7 separate regions of the Homo sapiens genome follow, and regions 1, 2, 3, 5, 6 and 7 are each linked to region 4. The links are contacts of gene promoters, found by promoter capture Hi-C in blood cells and fetal thymus (Javierre and others, 2016). All regions are on one chromosome and are shown on one strand. The core of a region is centred on a gene start or on the middle of the fragment in contact, and the rest is flanking DNA. Distances in the headings are between cores, read along the strand shown. Region 1 overlaps TTC5 (tetratricopeptide repeat domain 5). Region 2 has its middle 6.6 kb from the start of RNASE8. Region 3 overlaps NDRG2 (NDRG family member 2). Region 4 holds the start of RNASE4 (ribonuclease A family member 4). Region 5 overlaps PARP2 (poly(ADP-ribose) polymerase 2). Region 6 overlaps ARHGEF40 (Rho guanine nucleotide exchange factor 40). Region 7 overlaps METTL17 (methyltransferase like 17).

What was found. Contacts are between HindIII fragments. The CHiCAGO score rates a contact against its expected background, and 5 or more counts as called.
Region 1: a contact is called between a fragment that was not itself captured here and the fragment with the promoter of RNASE4 in region 4, in 4 of 17 cell types (fetal thymus, activated CD4 T cells, megakaryocytes and 1 more). The highest score is 8.7, in fetal thymus.
Region 2: a contact is called between a fragment that was not itself captured here and the fragment with the promoter of RNASE4 in region 4, in 4 of 17 cell types (monocytes, M2 macrophages, M0 macrophages and 1 more). The highest score is 7.7, in monocytes.
Region 3: a contact is called between a fragment that was not itself captured here and the fragment with the promoter of RNASE4 in region 4, in 5 of 17 cell types (monocytes, fetal thymus, M1 macrophages and 2 more). The highest score is 7.7, in monocytes.
Region 5: a contact is called between a fragment that was not itself captured here and the fragment with the promoter of RNASE4 in region 4, in 17 of 17 cell types (naive CD8 T cells, naive CD4 T cells, total CD8 T cells and 14 more). The highest score is 21.7, in naive CD8 T cells.
Region 6: a fragment that was not itself captured here is called in contact with the fragment with the promoter of RNASE4 in region 4 in 2 of 17 cell types (monocytes and M0 macrophages); the score reaches 7.6 in monocytes.
Region 7: a fragment that was not itself captured here is called in contact with the fragment with the promoter of RNASE4 in region 4 in 6 of 17 cell types (fetal thymus, total CD4 T cells, monocytes and 3 more); the score reaches 10.4 in fetal thymus.

Annotation. Positions count from the first base shown.
Region 1 is chr14:20,290,023-20,292,722 of GRCh38, forward strand. TTC5 (tetratricopeptide repeat domain 5) reads right to left here. Exons shown (of 10, transcript NM_138376.3): 9 at 1,961-2,105. Among named protein-coding and RNA genes, the nearest start is that of TTC5, 15 kb to the right of the region's middle. The HindIII fragment of the contact is 978 bases long and covers 926-1,903 here.
Region 2 is chr14:21,049,908-21,052,607 of GRCh38, forward strand. It overlaps a transcript of NDRG2 not described here. Among named protein-coding and RNA genes, the nearest start is that of RNASE8, 6.6 kb to the right of the region's middle. The HindIII fragment of the contact is 1,176 bases long and covers 725-1,900 here.
Region 3 is chr14:21,017,864-21,020,563 of GRCh38, forward strand. NDRG2 (NDRG family member 2) reads right to left here. Exons shown (of 16, transcript NM_001320329.2): 8 at 2,633-2,700; 9 at 2,057-2,113; 10 at 1,776-1,879; 11 at 1,253-1,297; 12 at 900-951; 13 at 594-641; 14 at 341-376; 15 at 124-175. Among named protein-coding and RNA genes, the nearest start is that of MIR6717, 4.2 kb to the right of the region's middle. RefSeq lists an enhancer at 1,652-2,700. The HindIII fragment of the contact is 4,424 bases long and covers 1-2,700 here.
Region 4 is chr14:20,683,201-20,685,900 of GRCh38, forward strand. RNASE4 (ribonuclease A family member 4) reads left to right here and starts at 1,360. Exons shown (of 2, transcript NM_002937.5): 1 at 1,360-1,558. It overlaps TRY-GTA5-5 (tRNA-Tyr (anticodon GTA) 5-5), which reads left to right and starts at 73; the gene lies at 73-161. It overlaps TRP-TGG3-2 (tRNA-Pro (anticodon TGG) 3-2), which reads left to right and starts at 816; the gene lies at 816-887. It also overlaps a transcript of ANG not described here. RefSeq lists enhancers at 1-51, 252-441, 582-711, 1,512-1,651 and silencers at 842-891, 1,162-1,281. The HindIII fragment of the contact is 4,966 bases long and covers 1-1,880 here.
Region 5 is chr14:20,350,880-20,353,579 of GRCh38, forward strand. It overlaps PARP2 (poly(ADP-ribose) polymerase 2), which reads left to right. Exons shown (of 16, transcript NM_001042618.2): 6 at 168-243; 7 at 1,366-1,468. Among named protein-coding and RNA genes, the nearest start is that of PARP2, 8.6 kb to the left of the region's middle. The HindIII fragment of the contact is 4,027 bases long and covers 1-2,700 here.
Region 6 is chr14:21,075,921-21,078,620 of GRCh38, forward strand. ARHGEF40 (Rho guanine nucleotide exchange factor 40) reads left to right here. Exons shown (of 24, transcript NM_018071.5): 6 at 440-536; 7 at 643-723; 8 at 854-970; 9 at 2,257-2,352; 10 at 2,453-2,568. Among named protein-coding and RNA genes, the nearest start is that of ARHGEF40, 7.0 kb to the left of the region's middle. The HindIII fragment of the contact is 899 bases long and covers 974-1,872 here.
Region 7 is chr14:20,994,160-20,996,859 of GRCh38, forward strand. METTL17 (methyltransferase like 17) reads left to right here. Exons shown (of 14, transcript NM_022734.3): 8 at 384-454; 9 at 635-742; 10 at 1,006-1,074; 11 at 1,742-1,792; 12 at 2,050-2,133; 13 at 2,368-2,552; 14 at 2,626-2,700. It overlaps LOC101929718 (a long non-coding RNA gene), which reads right to left. Exons shown (of 4, transcript NR_110139.1): 3 at 2,673-2,700; 4 at 1,678-2,171. Among named protein-coding and RNA genes, the nearest start is that of SLC39A2, 3.8 kb to the right of the region's middle. RefSeq lists an enhancer at 1,970-2,700. The HindIII fragment of the contact is 5,148 bases long and covers 1-2,700 here.

The DNA of each region.
Region 1 (2,700 bases), core at 165-2,664, 390 kb before region 4:
GCCTAACAAAAGAATGCAACCAACTCTCATAGAATCTGCCTTTTCCCACGGTGTTTCCTGATAATTAACTAGATACACATAGCAGCCGGCCAGAGCCAGTGGGAATCCTGAGAAAATCTCAGTCCAAATGTTTATAAGGTCCTAATTTAATCCACCAAATACAAATTAAAGTTACTTCTCTTTTATATCAAGAGGAGGAAATAGAACATGAAACAGAATGTAGCCGTTTTCCTAATAACAAAAAAGGTATCAGCTCACTGTATCAGTTTAAGTGTATTTTAAGTTGTAAAACATATTAAATAGTCTTCATCCAAAAAATATGGCAATGAGAGGCAGGCTCTTTTAAGTCCAAGTAAAGTAAATTTAAAAGTTCTCATAAACCAATTTTTTTTAAGTCTTCACAGAAATATCAACAAGTGACACAAAAAATGGCAATTTATACAAGAAATATAAATTAATATTCATGCTATATTTTCCATGTAAAATTAGAAAATAACTTTTCAAAGGTTTCCAACCAGAGTTGAGAAAAAAACTACAGAGAAACACTTATTTACATCCACTGTTGGTAGTGACAACTAACTAGTACAATTTTCCAAAGAATTATTTGGCAATATGTATCAAAAGCCTCAGAATTCTGCATACCCTTTGGACCCAGGAGTCTACATTAGAAATTCATTTAAGGAACTAATCATAGATACAAGCAAAGATACAAAAATCCTCACTGTGTTTCTAATTTTTTTTCTATTATAAAAGTACTAATTTAGATCGGAGGTCATCAAAGTATTTCTGCAAAGGGACAGATAGTAAATATTTTAGGCTTTGTAGGTCATATGGTCTCTGTTACAGAACAAGTCACCTCTGACACTATAGTGCAAAAACAGCCACAGACAATAGTAAGCAAATGAGTGTGGCTGTGTTCCAATAAAGCTTTATTTGTGGACACTGAAATCTGAATTTCCTGTAATTTTCACATATCACAAAATATTACGCTTCTGTCCATTTTTTTCACTTAACAACACAGAAACCACACTCTTGTTTTTCTTTTTTTTTTGAGGCAGACTTTCTCTATCACCCGGGCTGGCGTGCAATGGGACAATAATGGCTTACTGCAGCCTCAAACTCCTGAGATAAAGTGGTTCTCTCACTTCAGCCTCCTTAGTAGCTGGGACTACAGGCATGTGCTACCATACCTGGCTAAGTTTTTTAACATTTTTTTGTAGAGACGGGGTCTCACTATATAGCCCAGGCTGGTCTTAAACTCCTGGGCTCAAGTGATCCTCCCACCTTGGCCTTCCAAAGTGCTGGGATTTTACGCATGAGCCACCATGCCCAGCCTAGAAACCATTATTAATAAACACAAGCAGTGAGCCAGATTTGGTCAATGGGCTTTGCCAACCTCTGATCTAAATGGTTAAACAGTAGTTAAATATCTACATTCATAAGGTTTTTTTAAGAATTGAATGGGGCAAGGCAGGTAATAAAAACTCTTAGCACAGTGTCTAGCACTCAATTAAGTGTTAAATAAATGTTAACTATCATTACCATCTTCATCACCCCGTGTCTACTCAATGTGGTGAAATATGTAAAAACATAGGAAACATTCACAAACATTTGCATATAATATCCCACTCATGATTTAAAATATAGATATATGTGTATATATTTGTGAAAAGAAAAGACTTCAGGTATATACACCAAACTGTTAACAGTAACAGTTAAAAGGCAGTAATACCTGAGTGATAATATTTCACTGCATTTTTTTATTTTTCTGCTTACCAGTTTACCTTTTTAGTAAAAAAATACATATATATATATAAATAAAACATATACACACAAATATATATACACATAGCCTACACACATACTTACATATAATTATTTCTATATCTTTTATAAAAAGATAAGCTTGGTTCTACTTTTAGAGCCTACGAGTTGTAAGAGAATCCTAGCCATTGCTCACCTTTCCTTTGTGCTGAATTCGGTGAAGCCGCAGGTTGGGCTCAGGAATGGCTACAGAGTCTCCAATGAGCACTCCCCAGCTCTGCACTATATTGTACACCATCACTGCATAGCAAGGTCCATCTGAATCTACCAGGCCAAATGTACTACCAAGTAAAGACAGATTAGGAGAGAGGAAAACAAAAAGGTATGTGGGTAGGAAAGAAGAGCAGAAACAGTGGTTTAAAAATACTAGCAAAATACTGGACTTAAAGTCAGTGACAGGTAATTAAAATAAAATATAAAATTTAACTTAATTAAACTTTAAAAATAAAATACTAACAAAATAAACAAATGCTTTTTCTCAGTTACTCAGAAAACCTATGAGAGGTACCATCTTCCACTTTATATATCTGAGTCTTCATTTTTCTGAAACTCATCAGTCACTTTGCTAAGAACTTAGGACAAAGCACACTGAAGCCATTCAACAAATATTAATGATGAACTAGACCAACATGTTACAGTTGTAACATTATTCCTGGTCTATCAATTTAACTATCATACTCTTAACCAAAGCCTCTAACCATCACTGTCTGTGTAGTTTAACTCCACAAACTTTCACTGAATATTACATATGTGCCAAGCATTGTGTTTAGCAATAAGATACCAATCCAGCTATGAATGACCTATAGTCTAGCAGGAGTCAGACAATGAAGTCATCACTTACAGCACAGTGTGATGGGTGCTAGAATAGCTTTTCCC
Region 2 (2,700 bases), core at 63-2,562, 370 kb after region 4:
CTGAGATTACAGGTATGCACCACCATGCCCGGCTAATTTTTGTATTTTTAGTAAAGACTGGGTTTCACCATGTTGGTCAGGCTGCTCTTGAACTCCTGACCTCATGTTCTGCCTGCCTTGGCCTCCCAAAGTGTTGGGATTACAGGTGAGCCACTGTGCCCAGCCCAGATATCTTTCAAGATCAAATCATACATGGACTGGCAAATCAATCTGCAAATGGGCAGACCCCCGGATTTGAGACAAAAGCATGTTCATCCAAAAGAGTATTAAGTGCCCGTAATCCTGACACGTTGCATTTCTGACCTTCACCTGAATGCTCATATTGTATCATTGAGATGGGAAAAAAACAGTACATGAGGAATTGATGGCAAACTAGTCAAGCATGTCCCTGGCCGTGCCATTGGCTGCTGGAAACATAAATAAGGATATGCAACAAGAAAAAGGGCCTGGACCTCCCATCTGCTACTCCGGACCAGGGTGAAAACATTACAGAGATCCTGTTTGGTGGAGCTCCGGGTGGGCCTGAGATATCCCAAGCATTTATCTTTGGTAAGGGTTACCACTTTTTACCCTTGAATTTGGCATATCCAGAACAGGATCTTCATGGTCAACTAGAACCTGCAGAGCAATGCTTCCCAGAATTTCCCCTGAAGTGCTAGTAACCACAGAGGAAGATGAACTAAAACACCTAAAGTAGTGCCCAATGAGCTTGGGCTTTCTCTGAAGCTTCTTTCACTTAACTAATATTTATAAAATAGCCGTGCATATGAGTGTTTTATATGCTATCTTTAAATTTCATTTGTGGTAATAATAATAATGGATCAATGTCAATTTCCCCTTTTTGGTGGCTGTACTGTGGTTATGCACACGAGAGTACTTGTAATTAGGAAATAGTCACTGAAGTATTAAGGGGTAATGAGCATCATGTCTGTAACTTGTTCTGAAATAGCTCAGAAATGTTAATAATTGGGGAACTGGGTGAAGCATATAGGGGAGCTCTGTGTATGCTTTCTGAAACTTTTATATACGTTTTAAATTATTTCAAAGTGAAAATGCTAAAAAAATTTAATGTAACTCATTTGAATTTTTCTATCATACAAAGTTATTTTCTGTAAAAATAATGCCTTAAATTACTCCCCATCCCCTAAAAAGATGGTTTTAGTAAAATTGTAAAGAACACATTTATCTTGTGACTTTGTGTACCCTCTGCACACATCTGTGTTCCACCTGGGGTAGCAGTACACTGGCTCTAATGTTTTCCTTAACTTGCTCTTTGTGGATTTCTGTCTCTGACCAGTGTTTCTTTTCAAGAACTGGTTGAGGAAGATAGGGTAGTCATGGGGCTAGGGCATTGGAAAGGTCCTTTTCATGCTGAAAAATGAGAAAATAGACATAGAGCACTTGGAACAGTGACTGGAACATAGAAAAGCCTCAGTAAATGTTAACTATGATTGTTTTTATCGTTATGACCCCTATCATTCCTAGCAGGGCTGAAGGCTGCACGCAGCCTTGTTGTGGTAAGTCAGAGGTCTCAGGAGGGCAGCCGGCCTATGAGGGGAACTGGCGTATCCAGGGAGCCATATGCCTCAGCTCTGGTTGGGTTGAAGACTACATCCTCTCCCTCATGAAGATGAATCCAGGAGTGAGGAACAAAGGGAGACAGTCCTCCCGCAGAGACAAGCTCATAGTGCAAATGGGCACCATAGGAAGGCCTCAAAGAACTACATAGAAAAGAAAAATGGACCTGGCAGGAGACAGGGTTAGCCACTGGAAACAGAGGAGGGCTTCCCAAAAGGAATGTGGCCACTGGATTCCATGTGATGGAGCTCTGCTTCTCAGAGCCATAAACCAGGGCCCAGACCACAGGTCTGTCACCACCAGGAGGCTGTTTGAAGGTTGAAGCTTGAAAAACCCTATGGGGGTGGCACTTGTAGTTCAAAGACGACCCTCGTGGTACTGCTGTCCTTCAGGCCAGCAAACCAGGCAAACTTCTCTGGCACCCTCGCTCAGCCCTCCTGGGGTATCCTGAAAGAATGGGTCTTTGGGAGATAGTTGCTTATTCTCTGCTCCCCTTCTTTCAAGGCACCTTCAGAGTCTACTATTAGGCCTCTCCTTCATACTAGTAAGGTGCTGGCTACTTACTAGCACTTTGATGTTTTTTCTTGTGTCACACAAGTGTCAGAACCAGGGGGCATTTTAGACATTATTCAACTGAAACTCCTTGTGTTATAAATAGTAAGAAGACTGAGAGGATCAGAGTGATGACTGAGTTCAATGCACGGTTACTGAGTGCTCCTGTGAGCTAGCCATGTGCCTGGCACTATGAAGACAGAGAAGCACGGAAGGACCTGATTCCTGTCCCACGAGTTTACCGTCTAGTTGGGAAGACTGGATGCTCTTACTGGATGAAAGAGTTAAATAGCAAAACAAGGTAGTACACGATTTAGAACCCAAATGAGTGATACTATGAAACAGTTAATGCTAAAGGAGGTTAGGATTTGTACGGCAAGGTTCGTAAATGTGATCCTGAGCAAACTCATATGGTCAAGATGAGTTCTAAAGGATGGATAATATTTGAGGGAGGACTTGCAGGGAAGAGGGAAACAGAAGCAAAGCTGAAGAGAGCAAAACATGTGCTGGAGACAAAAGGAAAATCAGGTTATTAGGATAGAATTTGGTTAGAATAGTTTGTGTTCGGAG
Region 3 (2,700 bases), core at 7-2,506, 330 kb after region 4:
GCCAGGGGATCAACGAGCTCGATTGGGCAGATAGCGGTGAGTCCAGGCATTCACCTAAAACGGTTCCACCCCGTCAGTGCCTATCTCTCCTCTAGTGCAGCAAGCTCTTGTCCCGATACTCACTGTAGCCCATGCCTTGCAGGAAGTACTTGAAGGCCTCGGTCAGCTTGCCTGGCTGCGGAAGTAAGAAGAGGCGAGGGAGACGGTGAGATGAGGTTAGAGGAAGAGCTGGAGCCTGAGGCTGCGGCACTGTGGGGCCGGGTGTGTGGCAAAGGGCAGAGCCCAGTGCCACCGGTATCCTATGTCCCTTCCCCATCCCATGGACGGCAGCGGCACTCACCTGAGTCAGCTGGGGCTGACCTCCGGAGTCAGCCATCTGTTCAGGAGAGCACCACCCAGAAAAAGTGAAACACACATAAATGAGCCATGCAGAGAGGTGGAAAGGGTCTCTCTTCCCTAGCTTCTTCACTCTAGCCCCTTTGTTTTGTTCTTCGTTCACCCCATTTGCTCCCATGCCGGGCCCTGGAGGCTTAGCAGCTGCATGTAGAGAGGATATATGACTGTGGACGGGGGCCCAGGAACAGGTTACTGACCTTGAGGAACGAGGTCTGGGTGGGGTCCAGTTTTGAGTTACATTCCACCTGGAGTAAGCAGGAGGCTGAATGAATGAGGTCACGCCCACTGTGGCGCCTCCCCCGTAAGGGACCCAGGAACCCAGACCCCAGTCCCTTTTCTATCAGCTCCCTACCCAGTTCCTCCTTACCAGGAATCAAATTCTTAGTGCCCCAAAGTTGATCTCCCTGTGCCAAACAGGACATCCCCTTGGCAAGATACTCTTCTGACCACCACTTTAGGACCCCAACCCTCCTCCCTCACTCACCCCAAAATTCCCTACTAACCACTGCATCTTCATGAGGTGCTTGGTCTCCTACCACCAGCATCACAGGACACCTAAAGACACAGTGTTGGGGAGAAGGCAGTGAGCCCCTGGCACTCCCTCACTGGCCTCTGCCTAGGAGTGCAGCTGGAAAAATATCTGGCTCCAAAGAGGAAAGACACTTCTGTGTCTCCCTGCTGATGCCACCAAGAGGATTCAAAGGGGGAAGACCTAGAGGGAAGTGATTTACCAAATAGGATGGGGTGGGACATGACAAGGAAGTTCCCTGGCAAAAGATTCTCCTTCTTCTAAGGGACACAAGCTCCTAGGGAAGATCCAGGGAGACAGGCAATGCATTATCTCTTAAAGTCTTACCTGAGGGTGATATCACCTCCACGCTCAAAGTTCAGGTCTCGGCGGCTAGAAAGGGGTTAAAAGAGTAGGAATTTTAGGTGGGCAATGCTATCTAACCAGATATAAGCTATCTCTCCCATGATGGAACTATCTTTGTCTAAAAATTACGGTCAAATCTTGGTTATTAAAGGTGGAAACCAAAGGAGAAAGGGGCAGGCAGGCCCCAAGCACAGCCCCTATAGTCACTTGTGCCCTAGATCCCTGGTCAGAGGGCAACAAAAGGGGAGGAAGGACACAGGACACAAGATCATCTTACTTCTGGGAGTCCAATAATCCAAAGGAGGTAAACAAGAGAAGGGGGACAGCCCCTTGCAATCCTTCCCACTGACTCTGTCCTGAAGCTGCCCCCATTGCACACTAAATGCTGCATTCCTTGCACATTGCACACTACCCAGACTTCCCTCTCCTCCTCTGTGCCTCCCCCATGACGCCCAATTACTGCTTCTGCATTTCTCTCACATGCATACACACACAGCCCACCCACTTGTTGTAGCTGTTCCAGTACAATTCAATGTTATCCAGGTTGGGTGCATGTGTAATGATATTTCTGTACTTTTGTATCAACTCAGAATTTCCAGAGAGCTCTTCCTGAAGGAGAGAACAAGGAGAAAAATTAGGGATGGAAAGAGAAAACAACAATTACTGGAGGAAAAGAGGTAAGCCTTCTTCCTTCCCCAAATCCTGTCCCAGCTAAGGAAGTTAGCCCAAGCATTCAAGTTCCCTGCTGCTCCCGTCGACTCTTCTACATCTCCTACACCCACTTACCTGGCTGAAAAGATGTCCAAGGATCATCTCCGGAATGGAAGAGGTGAGGCCTGTTAGCTATGAGGAGAAGGCAGGTGAGAAAGTTCAGGGTATTGGCCAGGCACAGTGGCTCACGTCTGTAATCCCAGCACTTTGGGAGGCCGAGGCGGGTGGATCACGAGGTCAGGAGTTCAAGACCACCCTGGCCAAGATGGTGAAACCCCATCTCTACTAATAATACAAATATTAGCCAGGCGTGGTGGCGGGTGCCTGTAATCCCAGCTACTTGGGAGGCTGAGGCAGGAGAATCACTTGAACCCAGGAAGCAGAGGTTGCAGTGAGCCAAGATCAAGCCACTGCACTCCAGCCTTGGCAACAGAGTGAGACACCATCTCAAAAAAAAAAAAAAAAAGAAAAAGAAAAAGAAAGTTCAGGATATTATAAGAGACTCAGGCAAAGTGACAGCTTCACTTTCCTGCCCCTTTACTCCCTCCTTGAAGTTCAGAGTCCATCCAGTTAGGCTATCTACCAGAGCCTAACTGGATCCATACGAGGGGATCCCCAACCGTAGGTCTCAGCACACAGGCCCCTCCAAACCTTGTGGGCTGCCCAATCCATCCAACCCTTGGCATTGGGATCAATGTTGATGAGGACAAGACCTTCAA
Region 4 (2,700 bases), core at 110-2,609:
GATTTCTTTCTTTCCCGTCTCTGGTTAAGGATGTCTCGAGTAGGGATTTTTAGGAGAGTTGTTTCCGTGCTTCCTTCGATAGCTCAGCTGGTAGAGCGGAGGACTGTAGTACTTAATGTGTGGTCATCCTTAGGTCGCTGGTTCGATTCCGGCTCGAAGGAGACGCTGCTGTTTTGGGGTTTACGGTTGCTCTTCGTTTGTGCAAAAAATCTCTGTATCTTGACGTGATCAAATCTGTTTCTGTCTCTCACCCTTGTCCGAAGGAAACAGCTTAGCCGCGAGGTGGGCTGCGTTAATCGCGTCTTGAAAAGTTGGTTACCTTTCTGAAAGATAGTAGACCCGAATCGTCCCACCGTTGGGGGAAGGCACTGTTGTCTTACCGAAGTGTGTTATATTTTGGCTTCTACGTTAAGTCCAAAGGCCGGCAGATATATACGTATCGCGCGTCTGTCCTGGGGCTCAGTACCCTACAGCCTTGCAACCGAGCTCAGCTCTGGCCCTCGATCTCTATTTCAGCCCCCTCCAGGTTCCCTCCAGGCCCTAGCGGGCTTAAATCGCTCCCCGGGCTCAGTGAGACACAAGCATGTGACCTAAAGTCTAAAAAGCTGCCTTCCTTCACCCCATCCTGCATCTGGATCGAGGAGAATAAGCCAGAGAATAAGCCACACTTGAAACTTGGTGAAGATGGAAGGAATAACTAAATAAGGCCTAAGGGAAATGTCACAACAGAGGAAAAGAAACAAAACAAAAAACCTTCAGAACAGCAGGCGGAAAAGAGAAATTCAGAGTGATAGGAAGCACCACTCAGCTACAGTGGCTCGTTGGTCTAGGGGTATGATTCTCGCTTTGGGTGCGAGAGGTCCCGGGTTCAAATCCCGGACGAGCCCTCGTGGCTACTGTTTTTCCACCCCCTTTTGTCAACTACTGAAAAAAAGTCTCCGTTAAATTTGAAACACAAACTGTCTCGCGATGGGCTGTCCTGCCAAAGAAAGCAGCAGCGAATAAGTACGTGGCAGATGGTGCTGTCGACCAGTGTCAAGACCAAGTTTCATGGGTTCCTGGACGCTCAGCCAGGGGTAGTCTCTGAAGGGCCGCCTGGCAATTGGGAGCAGAAGCCAGTTTCCCGCCATCTGCTCTCCGTGGAGGCAGTGCTCTCGCGGCTGCTGCCCGTTGGGGTCCAGCTGAGGAAGGAGCGCGGATCCCAGGCTCGTTCTTTGCCTGGGCTGCCCCTGCGGCCCCTGGGGCGGGTGCTGCTGCGGCGCCAGCTCCAAGGGCGGATCCAGGCGGGAGGGGCCTCCTCGGAGAAGCGGGGCGCGGTCCCAACTACGCAGAGGCTGGCACGCCGACCCTCCACACCTCACCACGCCCCCATCTCCGTCCGTGTACACACACTCACACAAGGACGCCAACCCCACCTAGATGCAAAGCAGGATTCAAAAGAACATCTTTGCGTTTTCTACCGGCTCCCCATCATCGTACTAGGGAGGAAGAAGCGGGTGAGAAACAAAACTTCTTTCCATTGTCCTGCCCGTTTCTGCGGACTTGTTCTGAGGCCGAGGTAGGTTCACACTCCTGCTCCTCCTCCTCCTCTCTGGTAGCTTCATAAGGGGCGTTTAGGCCGGGGAGTCCTTTCCTAGTAGAGGCAGCTTGGGACTCCTTGGGGAGGAGTTTGCGGGACGGGGCTGGAGAGGGAGGAATGGGGAGGGACGTGAAAGTCCCGTATTTGTATGAGTTAACGACTTTACATTCCCACTCAGGTTTACTTTGCGCAGCTGGGCACAGATGCCAGCTTCTATTGATTAGTAGGCTTGGAGGGGGACCACAGAATCGCCGAACCTAAGGGAAGCCCTAGGAGGCCTGCACTTGCCCACAACTAAGAAAGCTTTGCTAGTTATTCAGGCTAATCACCAGCTTTTTGAAGCAGGCCTTAGTTTTTTGCAAGCGTAACTAACATTTGGGGATCGGTGTTTTCTGTTTACTCTCCTCTGCCTCCTCACCCTTAACCCACCCTCAGCCAGTGTTGTGCAATTCTTAGAGACACTTGCCAACAGCCTCTTCTCTAAGCCTTCCTACTGGAAGGTTGGGATCCTCCGTTTTCTCGCTCTGAGACAGCACGTCAAATGCTAATAGCAGCACATGAGTAAAGCGCAACATCTTTATTAAAACAATTTCAGCACCACTCAGGGGGCTAGGGAAATCTCAGATGAGCCAAGACCCTCCCTCGTGACAGTAAAAATCTTATAATCAAGTCATAATGTAATCAGTAGAAACCCAAGGGACATCATTATCTGTGGCACAGGACCACCTTCCCAGAAGCAGCCTCAGGTATTCAAGACTTACTTAACCACAGAGCCACTAACAAGTTTTGCAAGAGGATAGGTTTATTACATACGCTTCAATTCAAGCAATTCTTTTACTGATGACAAGCAGAGTAAAATAATTTTTGAATTTATGGTAATAGTCAATGTAGGTTTCCTTCGAACAGCAACTTTCAGTGGCCCCTTTAAAGTTAGCTCTGATTGTCTAGAAAGTACTAGTATGGAATATAAAAGTTGTGTGGGCCCGGCACGGTGGCTCATGCCTGTAATCCCAGCACTTTGGGAGGCCGAGGTGGGTGCATCACAAGATCAGGAGTTCGAGACCAGCCTGGCCAAGATGGTGAAACCTCGTCTCTACTAAAAATACAAAAATTAGCCGGGC
Region 5 (2,700 bases), core at 188-2,687, 330 kb before region 4:
CTATGGCAGTTAGCAAGTAACTTGTATCAACATGATTAGTTCCCTAAATCCTTTCACCTTTCCCTTCTCCCTTTCCTGCCTGTTTGTCAGATGTTAAGCAGAGAGATCTTGGAGAGCTGGCCTGTTACTCTTAGGGAACTATCTTATGTGTGGCATTTCCTTTGCAGTTGGGAAAATGGGACAGCACAGCCTGGTGGCTTGTTCAGGCAATCTCAACAAGGCCAAGGAAATCTTTCAGAAGAAGTGAGTGCTGAAAAGTGACTACAAAAAAATATACCCTCCTCTTCTTAGATGTATATTCTCTAAAAAATTTTTTTTTAGACAGTTTCACTCTTGTTGCCCAGGCTGGAGTGCAATGGCATGATCTGAGCTCACTGCAACCTCCACCTCCTGGGTTTAAGTGATTCTCCTGCCTCAGCCTCCCTAGTAGCTGGGATTACAGGCGCCCACCACCACGCCCAGCTAATTTTTGTATTTTTAATAGAGATGGGGTTTCGCCATGTTGGCCAGGCTGGTCTCGAACCCCTGACCTCAGGTGATCCGCCTGCCTCAGCCTCCCAAAGTGCGGGATTACAGGCGTGAGCCACCGTGCCCTGCCTTCTCTAAGAATTTTATAAGTGTGTGGCTTATAAAAAACTTTTCGTTTTATAGGTGTGATTTGGCCTAAATGTTAATGTCTTTTCACCCTGACATTCTGTGGTTGAAACACCAAACTGCATCCTTAGTGATTAAATCAAACTAATACCTTGAAAGTCACTAAAAACAGAAGAATCTAATATATTTAACACATGACTGACAAATTTAGGAAATTTGGGATAAGTGGAGACTATCCTGGGATAGATAATATTCAACTAGGGGCTGAGCACGGTGATGCCTGTAATCCCAGCACTTTGGGAGGTTGAGGCAGGAGGATTGCTTGAAGCTAGGAGTTTGAGACCAGCCTGGGCAACAAAGCGAGACCCCTGACTCTCCCCCAAAAAAAAGGAAAGAAAAAAAGAGAATATTCAGTTAGAATTTTTAAAACTTTATGATATAGATGAAGAACTTTCTGGAGAATTGGAGAACATGTTTCTTTCAGGGAAAGAGATTAGATGGATATCTTTTGTTTGAAATCTCAATGGCTTTTGTGGTGTTTGGGAAGGACAAGCATTGTTTTTCCCATTTTTTAAATTCCATTTGTCTCCAGAGCTTTTTTGTCCATTTAGTGTCCTCATTTAGAATTAGACTAATTTTGATTTATGGAAAGTTGATGTGTAAAGGAGCTCAGTGCTGGAAAATAAATTCTTTGGAGATTTTCTGTCTTGTAAGTCCATCTTCATAGTAGACCTTTATTTGTAAAGTTTTCTTACACCTTGGACTCTACAGATTCCTTGACAAAACGAAAAACAATTGGGAAGATCGAGAAAAGTTTGAGAAGGTGCCTGGAAAATATGATATGCTACAGATGGACTATGCCACCAATACTCAGGTAACTCTCACTATACTTTTCGAAAGAAACACATCTTCTTTTTTTATTTTATTTTTTAGAGGCAAAACTGTGCTCTGTTGCCCAGGCTGGGTGGCACAATCATGGCTCACTGCAGCCTCAAGATCCTCAGGCTCAAGTGATCCTCCCACCTCAGCCTCCTCAGTATCAGGAACTACAGGCACGTGCCACTCTGCCCAGCTGATTTTTTTTCTTTTTTTTTTGTAAAGATGAGGTTTCACTATGTTGCCCAGGCTGGTCTCGAATTCCTGGGCTCAAGCAGTCCTCTTGTCTTGGCCTCCCAAAGTCCTGAGATTACAAGCATGAGGCACCACACCTACTCCTGTTTCTTCTTACTCAGGGTAAAGCAGAATAGCTTAGATCATTCCTGGACTGGGACAGGCCAGGATATCTTGAATCCTTTCTACTTCTCACCTCAGGGGTGCTCTCACTGATCTTTGTAATCCCAAAGGGACAGTAAGAATGAGGATAGAATGTGCCTTTCTAGTCTTGGCTCTGTTATTTACTAAGGTTCTTTTTTTTTTTTTTGAGCTGGAGTTTGATTCTTGTTGCCCAGGTTGGAGTGCAATGGCTCAGTCTCAGCTCGCTGCAACCTCCAGCTCCCGGGTTCAAGCGATTCTTCTGCCTCAGCCTCTCAGGTAGCTGGGATTACAGGTGCCCGCCACTATGCCCAGCTAATTTTTTTTGTATTTTTAGTAGAGACAGGGTTTCATCATGTTGGCCAGTCTGGTCTTGAACTCGTGACCTTGGGTGATCTACCCGCCTCAGCTTCCCAAAGTGCTGGGATTACAGGCGTGAGCCATCACGCCCGGCCTACTAAGTTTCTTATAAAATCTTAGGCCCTATTTCCAGACGTTTATTGTTTTTTTCGTTTTTTTGTTTTTGTTTTTTTTTGATACGGAGTCTCGCTCTGTCGCCCAGGCTGGAGTGCAGTGGCGCGATCTCGGCTCACTGCACGCTCCGCCTCTGGGTTCACGCCATTCTCCTGCCTCAGCCTCCGGAGTAGCTGGGACTACAGGCGCCCGCCACCACGCCCGGCTAATTTTTTTTTGTATTTTTAGTAGAGACGGGGTTTCACCATGTTAGCCAGGATGGTCTCGATCTCCTGACATCATGATCCGCCCGTCTTGGCCTCCCAAAGTGCTGGGATTACAAGCGTGAGCCACTGCGGCTGGCACCAGAAGTTTATTGTTATGGACCAAGAGAGGAGTGAT
Region 6 (2,700 bases), core at 173-2,672, 390 kb after region 4:
CCTGACCTCCAGCTTCATATCTTCACTGATCTTCAAAAGCAACACTGTTGACTTTCACTCTCTTCCAACCCTACCAAGATCATCAGGACATTGGTTCACTGATTCAACAAACATTTATTGAGCACTGAGTACCTATTAGGCACCATACTACAGGCTGATATTGAATGCACGCCATTTCAGAACAGAATTCTTAATTTTCCAGACCTTAATCCCTTGACCTAGTAGCCATATGAATATAGACCCCTGACTGCTAGGTGACTTCCTCTTGTACACACACCCCAGAATTTGGCCCTTTGCCCATTTCTTCCCAAATGTACCGGCAACTAATTTCTCCTCAGGACTATTAACTAAAAACAGACCCCGTATGTCTGCCTTGCCTTATCTGCTATCCCCCAAAACACACACACAGCAGCCTCCTTGGCTCTTCCTGCTCCCGCAGGCCTGATCTACAGACACTGGGGCTGTCCGTCCTGCTGGACCTTCGTCAGGCACCTCCACTGCCTCCAGCACTCATTCCTGCCTTGAGCCAACTTCAGGTAACCACCCCTCAAACAGGCAGTTCCCCTGGATCCTAACTCTTCACCAGTGGCCAGTCCAGGACACCCGATTGCCCAGTTTAGGGTTATTCTTTTCTGCCCTTAGGACTCAGGAGATCCTCCCCTTGTTCAGCGGCTGCTGATTCTCATTCATGATGACCTTCCAACTGAACTCTGTGGATTTCAGGTTTGAGCCCTTCATTCCCATCTAGTTTCCCATCAGTAGTGGGGAGAGGAGAAGAGGCTGGCTGGAGCCCCAGGCTGGTTTCTGAGTCCTTGGGTGCCCAGGAAGAAACCCCCTGCCTTACCCTCTACAGGGTGCTGAGGTGCTGTCAGAGAATGATCTGAAAAGAGTGGCCAAGCCAGAGGAGCTGCAGTGGGAGTTAGGAGGTCACAGGGACCCCTCTCCCAGTCACTGGGTAGAGATACACCAGGTAAGCTTCCCCTCTACCACCTAGCATGCTGGGAGCCAGGAATAACCCAGCTGAAGACATTCTAGGAGAGAGGCCATGTCCAGGACATACCATGAGGTTGCAAAAAAGTGGTTTCCATTCCATTCAATTCAACAAGTATTTATGGCTCCCAAATCATGAGGAAAACATGTGCACTGTGCCATGTTCTACTGGGGAGATAGGAGGAGTATGATAAATTATTATAATTATTATTTTTAGACAGTCTCACTCTGTCACCCAGGCTGGAGTGCAATGCTTCGATCACAGCTTACTGCAGCCTCGACCCTCTGGACTCAGGCGATCCTCCCATGTCAACCTCTTGAGTAGCTGTGGCTACAGGCATGTGCCACCACACCCACCTAGTTTTTGTATTTTTTTTTTTTTTTTTTTTGTAGAGACGGGGTTTTGCCATGTTGCCCAGGCTGGTCTCAAACTCCTGGACTCCAGTGATCCACCCGTCTCAGCCTCCCGAAGTGCTAAGATTACAGGCATGAGTGACTATGCCCAGCCAAATAAATTCTTAATATGACATTAAGTAGTGTATGATTTTTGGTGGGAGATAAATCATGAAACAAGTAGAGAAGAGTGCAAGATAGTGTCATTGGGTTTCTGGAAAGCACTGAGAGTCAAAAGGCTGGTTCTTGTTCCAAATTACTTTACCTCACTTGCAGAAATAGTGCCCTTTCTGTATCCGCTCCTTGCACCAACATCCAGGCCTCAGGATCCTCATCAGCGCAGTATAACAATCACAATATAATTGCTAAAGGTCCTTCCAGCACTTATCTCATGTAATTCTATGAATATAAGTGTTGTGAGTATTCAAGAAGAGAGAAATAAACATGATCTGAGCTGAGTATGAAAGAGGGGTCTGTAGATGGTCTCTAAGCTTCGCCTTTAGTGTCAAAGGGGAAATTGACATGAATAGGCAGAGAGAGGGGGTGTGACAGGGGGAAGCCCCACTGAAGACAGACAGGAAGGTCACAGTTACCAAGCTGTACAATGTGCCAGGCCCACGTTAGTTGCTAAACTGGCATCATCTCCTTAAAAATCACAGAAGCCTTTCTTATCCTGACTTTACAGTTGAGGAACTGAAGTTCAGGAAGGTTTCTGAACCTGCCCAACCTCATACAATTAGTTAGCAACAAAGTCAGGAACTGAATTCAGCATTGCCTCCATAAAAGTCTCTGGGGCTACCGCACCCCAACCCTAGGGCTTAAGTTCCTTCTTAAACTCTGATCCTCAACTCCATCCCTGCATGTGGGTTTCAGGAAGTGGTAAGGCTATGTCGCCTGTGCCAAGGTGTGCTGGGCTCGGTACGGCAGGCCATTGAGGAGCTGGAGGGAGCAGCAGAGCCAGAGGAAGAGGTATGAAATGAGATGGGACAGTGGGGGGATGGGATTGGGATGGGGCTGGGGTGGAGACTCTCTGGTGGAACCCCAACTGGCAACTCCTCCCTATCCCCAGGAGGCAGTGGGAATGCCCAAGCCACTGCAGAAGGTGCTGGCAGATCCCCGGCTGACGGCACTGCAGAGGGATGGGGGGGCCATCCTGATGAGGCTGCGCTCCACTCCCAGCAGCAAGTACGAAGTATGGGTGTGCGGAGGCAGGTGGAAGTGGGAGGTGGAGACACAGCTGAAGGCTGCCAACAAACCTTAGCTGCCAGACCATTCTTACTGTGCATGTATCTGGGCAAGATACTATGCTTTTACACT
Region 7 (2,700 bases), core at 94-2,593, 310 kb after region 4:
TAAGATGAATCTGGTTTACTTTTAAAGTTATAGTCAAGCAAAGGGTGGTATTAGAGGTTTCTGCTGGACTGAGGATGGGTTGGGTAAGAATCAAAGGACAGGAGGCCTAATATTCTCCCTGCCCTTTTTTTTTTTTTTTTAATTAGAGGTAGGGTCTCCATATGTTACCCAGGCTGGTCTCAAACTCCTGGCCTCAAGCCATCCTCCCACTTCAGCCTCTAGGGTAGCTGGGATTACAGGCACGCACCGCCATACCTGGCTCATCCCTGCCCTTTTTGATATACACTTTACCTATTCTTGGGGCCATGTTTCTTATCTGGATATCTCTTCAGTTTATACCTAACTTCCTACACACTCACAGTTGCCTCTTCTTTTCTCCACAGGTGGTTCAGAATCTGGGGAGCCTTATATTCCAGGTGTCTTTTTCAGACAGTTTCTACCTGTATCACCCAAGGCAAGTGGCAGTGTTTAGAATATTCTAAATGTGGAATGTGGCAGATGGAAAACTATGGCTTGAGCTTTGCAGCCCAGCACTGAGTGTTAGAAGATAAAAGAAATTTAGCGGCTAGGACTTTGTTGTATTCTTGGGATGTAGAGATGTTGAGTCTGTCATGTTCCTTGTCTTGGTCCTCAGGTGCAGTTTGATGTAGTAGTGTCAGCTTTTTCCTTAAGTGAACTGCCCAGCAAGGCTGACCGCACTGAGGTAGTTCAAACCTTATGGCGTAAGACAGGTCATTTCCTGGTGAGTTAAAATTCCTTGTTCTCCTTAAGTCTTGAAGCAGCTTCATGGATTTCATGCCTTTGCTCCTCTCATTGTCTTTATTCTTCACCATTTTTCTCCTTCATGGGTTTCTTTATCCCTCTTTGAGGGTCTCCATCCTGATTATGTAATGCCTATTTCTTTTTAGGACTCCTTCTCCCTCTATGATTGCTCTTACACAGCTACTGACATTTATACTTTCGTGTAATTCAAGTCTTCTGCATATTTTCCCCTTTTGTGAACAGGTACTGGTGGAGAATGGAACAAAAGCTGGGCACAGCCTTCTCATGGATGCCAGGGATCTGGTCCTTAAGGTAAGGCTTCTTCTTCCCTCACTCCCCCACCCATATGGCACCAATTACTGTTACTCTCTTGAAAACGAAAGAGACTGTCATGTATTGACAAGGGTGGCTCTCAGGAAACTGGGCGTATGAAGTCATTATGATACAGAGCAGTGGTTGGCAAATGAGAGCCTGTGGATCAAATCCGACCTGCCACCTGTTTTTATATAAGCCATGCTTATTTGTGCCTCTGTTGTCTGTGACTGCTTTCACACTACAAACAGCAGAGTTGAGTAGTTGGGACAGAGATAGATTTTGCCTACTCTCTGGCCCTTTAAAAGAAACTTTGCGGACTCCTAATCTAGGGCATTGCTGAGCTAAGAACCTTGTCACTGGGGGAGAGTATGAGCCAGTGTATAATCATAAATTTAATTGTCCTGGAGTGGGATTTTTTTGAGAGTGGAGGTTGCTGACAAGGGAGAGCACCGTACTATGTGCCAAGTTCTTGCCTTTCTCCTGCAGCAAAGAGAAAGTTCTTTGTTTGGAGTATTAAAGATGCAGCCAGCTTAATTCAAAGGACATAGTCAATCGTTATTAGAATTGAGTGTTAAAGGAGTCCTCAGTTTACTGAGTGCAGAGATTGAATTATGAAAATAGACCCTTGGCCCAGCTTTATTTCTTTTATTTCCTTTGATTTCAGGGAAAAGAGAAGTCACCTTTGGACCCTCGACCTGGTTTTGTCTTTGCCCCGGTGAGTATTACTTCTGCCTGTCCCACCACACGGATCTGAACTTAGGCGTGGCCGGGAAATGTAAGATGGTAAAGCTAAGCCACTCTCCACTACTTTGTGTTCCTATCCAGTTCCTACCTAATGATTCCCCTGGCTCTTCCTACCCACTGCTCCTGTCCTCCCTTCTCCCTGGCCCCTTTTGACTCTATTATTCTCAGTTTTTAAGTTTTGTGATTGATGGCTCTTTTGTCTTACCTCATTTTTTTATGTGTTCACAGTGTCCCCATGAACTCCCTTGTCCCCAGTTGACCAACCTGGCCTGTAGCTTCTCACAGGCGTACCATCCCATCCCCTTCAGCTGGGTAGGTACCTGGGGATATTGCAGCAGGAAGCAAACATCCTGGAAAAACAGGAAGAAAAAGAATCAGAGTTAGGAGGAGTTGGATAATTTGTAGAATAGCCTGGAGACTTTAGGGCCTACATGTATATGATTTATACATTGTAAAAAAGGACTGCAGGAATGGGGAAGAAGGGACTGTACAAACTTTTTTCCCATATCTTTTTCTTCTAAACAGTCTCTATGTTCCTTATCTTAGAACAAGAAACCAAAGGAAGAAAAGTTCTCTATGGTGATCCTTGCTCGGGGGTCTCCAGAGGAGGCTCATCGCTGGCCCCGTATCACTCAGCCTGTCCTTAAACGGCCTCGCCATGTGCATTGTCACTTGTGCTGTCCAGATGGGCACATGCAGCATGCTGTGCTCACAGCCCGCCGGCACGGCAGGTATGGGGGGTGTGACCAAAATCAGTGGGATGTGGCAGGAAGCTGCAGCCCACGCCAGCATCTGTTTCCACAGGGATTTGTATCGTTGTGCCCGTGTCAGCTCCTGGGGAGATCTTTTACCTGTGCTTACTCCGTCTGCGTTTCCTCC